Regions from separate parts of the Homo sapiens genome. Here region 1 is linked to region 2. Evidence: promoter capture Hi-C in human tissues and cell types (Jung and others, 2019). All regions are on one chromosome and are shown on one strand. Each heading gives the region's core, a stretch centred on a gene start or on the middle of the fragment in contact. The rest is flanking DNA. Distances are from core to core; before and after follow the strand shown.

Region 1 (2,700 bases), core at 16-2,515, 840 kb after region 2:
GAGGCAGGAGAATCATTTGAACCCAGGAGGCAGAGGTTGCAGCGAGCTGAGAGCATGCCAATGCACTCCAGCCTGGGCGACAGAGCAAGACTCCATCTCGGAGAAAAAAAAAAAAAGACATTAACTGGAGGACAACAAATGGATTCAAATCAGAGGTTTAAAAATCCTCATGGGCCAATATTTACCAAGCACCTTCCATGTGAATGCAACTGTGCTGAGTGCTTTCAGATTCAAATATGAGAGCTGTATTCCTTGTTCTCCAGGAGTTAACCCTATAGTAGAGGGAATGAGATAGGTACTGAAACAGCTGAAACTTAAGGCATACTAGATCTGTCCAACAAGAGCAGTACAATCAAAGCAACACAGAGCACTTTGGGAGGCCGAGGCAGGTGGATTGCTTGAGCTCAGGAGTTCGAGACCAGCCTGGGCAACATGGTGAAACTCTGTCTCTACTAAAATACAAAAAATTAGCCAGGCTTGGTGGTGCCTGCCTATAGTCCCACCTACCTGGGAGGCCGAGGCACAAGAATTGCTTGAACCCAGGAGGCAGAGGTCGCAGTGAGCCAAGACTGCGCCACTGCATTCCAGCCTGGGCAACAGAGCAAAACTATCTCAAAAAAAAAAAAAAAAAAAAAAAAAAAAGCCACATAGAGTGCCTCTTGTTGGGGAGATCTGAAAAATGTGATCTCTCCTTTCTTTGAGGATGCAGCATGAAGACAGGGAACTGAAAGATGGGCAGGATTTTTATGGGGAAGAGAAGGTAAATGTCCAGGCAGGAGGAATGGCATGAGCAAGATTAAGAGCAAGAGGCAAGTCTGGTAGGCAGGGAGCAGTTCCGGCTGGCTGAGGTGCAGGTCAAGCGAGGGGAGGGTGGCTGGGAAGGAAGGTAGAGGCTGCATTGCAGAGAAGGCTGAGGGCCAGCAGAGGCCTAGGCCAGCCCACAGCACCAGGGGGGCAGTTCTGTCTGAAGACAGACACTCTTAGGGAACTAGAGGTCAAAAATCTTCATTGTATACTCTTTATCTGTGAAAATACAGGGCTCCAACTTTCTGTCCCTTTTCTGAGGTGTTTGTCAGCAAAGCAACCAGACACTCTTAAAGAAGGGACACAAAAAAGGGAGCCAATTCCTGGGGAGAAATGGTGACTGAAATGAAATGAAGGCCGGGACTAATCAGGGAGGAGGATGGTGAGTGAGATGAAGGAGAATATATGCCAGAGGAAGGCGGTCTAATCAGGAACAGGATGGAGGTGAGGAAGGGGACACGTACCCCTCCCGGGATAATCCCTAAGAAAATTGACAATAGACGCTGGAGGGCCAGCAAGTCCATAGATTCAGAAACTACCAGCAACCGCGGGGTGGCATAAACATGCCAGCTATGGGTTTCCACCCAGAAACCAAGTACTGCTCTTTGCGCTTTTAGGAGACAGACTGTGTAACTACGAAACATGTTTTTAGGAGACTATTTACTGTCAAGAAGAAATGTTCACGGCAAACGGCGAAGTGGGAAAGGCTACACAAAATGGATGCATGTACAACATAATTCCATGTTTATAGAAATATGAGCAGCATTTATTGGTGTATTTGATCATCACGAGCTAGACTGCTGAATGGTGAAATATTTGAAATATTCCATGCCATCCAAAAGTTCTTCAGTTCTTACTTAGAATAGCTGGTGACTCGCTTCTGTCAAAGATACTGCTTAATGCTAATTAGTATGCAGAACACATTCCTTTACAAATATCTCTAATAAGTAGAATAACTAAAAGAATCTTGTCAAATATGTAGCTGGCACAGTATAAAACATTAGAGATGAGTGTTTTCCTTTTTACCACTTTTAGGAAACAGTCTTCTATGTAAGAAATACATGGGACCTTATTTGAAAAAAACTGAAGTATTAACACAAATATTCCCAAGCTTATATTAGCTCTTGTAATCAATGTAACTTCTTTACACAGACCTGTAACCCTGTTTATATAAATATGCCCATGTATAAACAATGCATACTGCACATTAGTGCCTGGTGGAGGCCAAGTCTTTTTCAAAATGCAAACATTTCAGAATTATTTTGTATTTCAACAAACCTACAGTAATATACATGCTGTATACACATACCACACAATTATTCTATTTTGCATGTGAAATTACATACTTTACACACCTGGCTAGCACAGTGGAAGGACAGGCCCACTGATACCAGTGAGAAGCAATGAGTCCTTGTGTTTAGCTTCTTCAATGTTATCAGGATAGAACTGTCTAACAGAAATGAACCTGCTTTCTTTGGCGGTAAAGAATGTTATCAACCTTTTACCTAAATAAACTTCACCAGGAACAGGGGTGAAAAAATTGGCTAGATGTTTAATAAAGTGCAACCAGGACTGCAGCTGCTAATTTTGTTTGATGTTTTACAGCTGAGGGTAGCAAAAAAACTAAAAGGCAATTACATGAACCAAACAGACTTTTATAGCTCATAGTCAATCTCAAATAAATAATTCTGGCAGAGTCTAATACTCTTTATGTTAAAATACATCATCTTCCAATTTAGGACAATAACTTTAAAATTTTTATGCAAAGTAAGAGCAAATCAGAGACAGGTCTGGAAAACTTAAATGCCAATAAAACATTCAATTATTTGTATGTAAAATATACATAAAAGGGAGGAGAATATATACAAAGTTATTAACAATAGTTCAATAGCTGGG
Region 2 (2,700 bases), core at 114-2,613:
TGTTTTAAAAACATGCTAATCAGAAAACTGTAACTTAATCTGCTTCATTCAGGAAACGCTCTATGGAGTGAAATGGGGAACAAAATGCAAAGGTACTTAATAAGACAGAGAGGTTATGACTGTTATTTTAGTTCTTATCCTCTGCCCACTTTCTACCACCCCTCCCGAACAAGGCGGAGCATTCTCTGATTTTTATGGAGAAGTTGTGTTCATTCTTGACATTTTAAGGGAGTAGAGCTCACATTTATTTGCAAGCCACATACATGACCTCGTTTACTTGTGGCCCTCCCCAAATCTATGAGAGGTTAGCACTTGATTTGCAGAAGACAACACTGAGGCTCAGAGAGATTATGTTCCTTGCCCAACATTCCACAGCTAGAATGTGGCAAAGCTGAGATTCGAACCCTGGCTCCAAAGCCCACATTCATGCCTCAGACCACAACCAGCACGGAACTCCAAGGAGACTCTATTTCTGTGCAAGGTCCTCTTTCCATGCCCACAGAGATCCATCTGACACTCTTGGACCATGGCACACAGAAGGAACTAACATCTTGACAAGTCATCTGCTCCGGAAGGTCCTGAGTCCCCCGTTCAAGACTCTCTGATGGGACTTCCCTTCCCTGCGCACTGCAACCTCCCTTGGGCCCCTGCTCACCTTCTCTGCCTCATCTGCTGCTGTCACAGGGAAAAGGAGACAAAGTACTAAACACAAAGCTTCTCCCCAAATCCAAACTATTTATGCAGACCCACTGCCAGGATCTTTTGCAGTCAGCAGGCTTCCCCTCTAAGGCCATAGCACATTGCTTCTTACCCTAGTGTCAGCCACAAATCGCTGGAAAACTGTGTGTGTCAGCACCAATAGATAGGTATATTTTCCTGGGGAGAGAGTTTATAGCTTTCCATGGCTTCTCAAAGGGGTCTATGAGATCCATGACAGATTACAATCCATGCCCTGGGGCACATTTTCTTGCCCCAGTCTCCTTTGCTGGAATGCATTCATGGAGGCTCCGCTCCAAGATGGCTCAAGTCAGACACCTGTTCCCATGGGAGTGGCTGCTCAAAAGAAACCAAGCCACAGGCCTGCATTGGTTCTTGTAGTTAGAACATCTCCAACTTGGCAACTCCAGCCTTTCACTCTAAAGTTTCTCATCACTCCCAGCCTAGCTTGGTCCTCCTAGTAAACTTCGGAGTCTCTCAACTACAAATATTAGAAAAGAACACTTACCCCACAGGCTGTCTTTCCCACCAGAGCCATTAACAGCAGAACATGGAGATCAGACATCCTGGCAAACATCTTTGCAGTTTAAGGACTTGTGTTTTCCTCTCAATAAAATTTCTTTTGTTGTCTATGCCTTTAGGGGGGAAAAATGTCAGTCTCCAAGGATTCAGGAACAAATGAAGAGGATGCAAATTATTAACTAGGCATCAAATACTGTTTAATGTTTAATGTTTTGCAAACTAACTATCTTGATTAAACAAATGGCAACTTTGGGGCTGGGCTGAGTCATGAAGTGGTTTCTCTTCTGGGGAGAAACTCTCCAAAGAAAGTAGCTGACATAGCCCCCTGGCTCCACGGTGCACATGACAGCTGCTGGGTGTTCCGAGCAGGAAGCCTGACAGCGTGACTAGCATCCCAGCCTCAGGATAAAAGATCAGGTGAAGCCTGTGCCACAGGCCTCTGCCAGTGCTGATTTGTACAGAATGTTAATAGACTTCTGGTTCATCAAATCTCAAACAGAATTAAGGCATGGATGGGCTCCTAATAACATCACACTTTATATTCATGAGACATAAATTAAAGGATGCAAAACTGCTATTGACAAACATTGATTCTGGGCCCTTTGAAGTGTTGCCCACAGTTGCTTGTTGGCTTCAAAAGTTTTGTTTTAAACCTCATTAGGTAAGACTTTTACTTTTTAATTATTTTTTCCCCTTTTGCTGGAGTCTTTCTTTGATCAAGCGGAGGAAAAAAAACATGGTGTTCATATTTCAGGACAATTGTTTCCTATGTTCCTTATTTAGCTATGCTGGTTGCAGGTAGAGTTCTGTCAAGCAGCAATTACCTATTAAGTGTGGGTTCTTGTGGACACAATTGATCTCTTTAATAGGCATGATCTTAATCTCCTGTAAACAACTGACTGCCCACAGAAATCTATGCCTGGGTTCCAGGAATCCTCCTGACTTGAGTCATAAATCCAGGTTTTGAAATGCTGCTGCCAGCGGAGGCATGTGCTCACCTGTGCCCCCCTGCCCAGCCCTGCCCCTACCTGCCATCCCTGTTTGGCACGTGGACTGCATCAGTGGCTGCATCTACTTCTGAAAGCCAAGTTGCTAGCCGGGGAGGGCCCCACAGATCCCAGCCCAAAAGAATGCCCCAGTCACCAGATGAGCCTTGAAGGACTAGCCAAGTCCTGGTCCTGCCATTTTACCTCCTAAATGACTTCCACATTATTTTCTTTTATCCACATATTTTTGTCTCCATCCTATTTTAGGCAGCCATCAACTCCCCCCACCCCGCCTCCTATACCATCAACATCCACCTGATCACCATAATACAAGCCCATGTTAGTAGTCCCTTTTTCTTTTTATTATTATTATTATTATTATTTTGAGACAGAGTCTCACTCTGTCATCCAGGCTGAAGTGCAGTGGCGTGATCTTGGCTCACTGCAACCTCTGCCTCCTGGATTCAAGTGATTC

What was found. Contacts are between HindIII fragments. The study calls those that stand out against the background at their distance.
Region 1: a contact is called between a fragment that was not itself captured here and the fragment with the promoter of HABP2 in region 2, in 1 of the 25 tissues and cell types used here (dorsolateral prefrontal cortex).

The regions. Positions count from the first base shown.
Region 1 is chr10:112,707,625-112,710,324 of GRCh38, reverse strand. The region is part of intron 7 of VTI1A (vesicle transport through interaction with t-SNAREs 1A); the gene reads right to left. Among named protein-coding and RNA genes, the nearest start is that of MIR4295, 75 kb to the right of the region's middle. RefSeq lists a silencer at 161-455. The HindIII fragment of the contact is 5,775 bases long and covers 1-2,700 here.
Region 2 is chr10:113,551,716-113,554,415 of GRCh38, reverse strand. HABP2 (hyaluronan binding protein 2) reads right to left here and starts at 1,363. Exons shown (of 13, transcript NM_004132.5): 1 at 1,226-1,363. The coding sequence starts at 1,294. The HindIII fragment of the contact is 9,394 bases long and covers 1-2,700 here.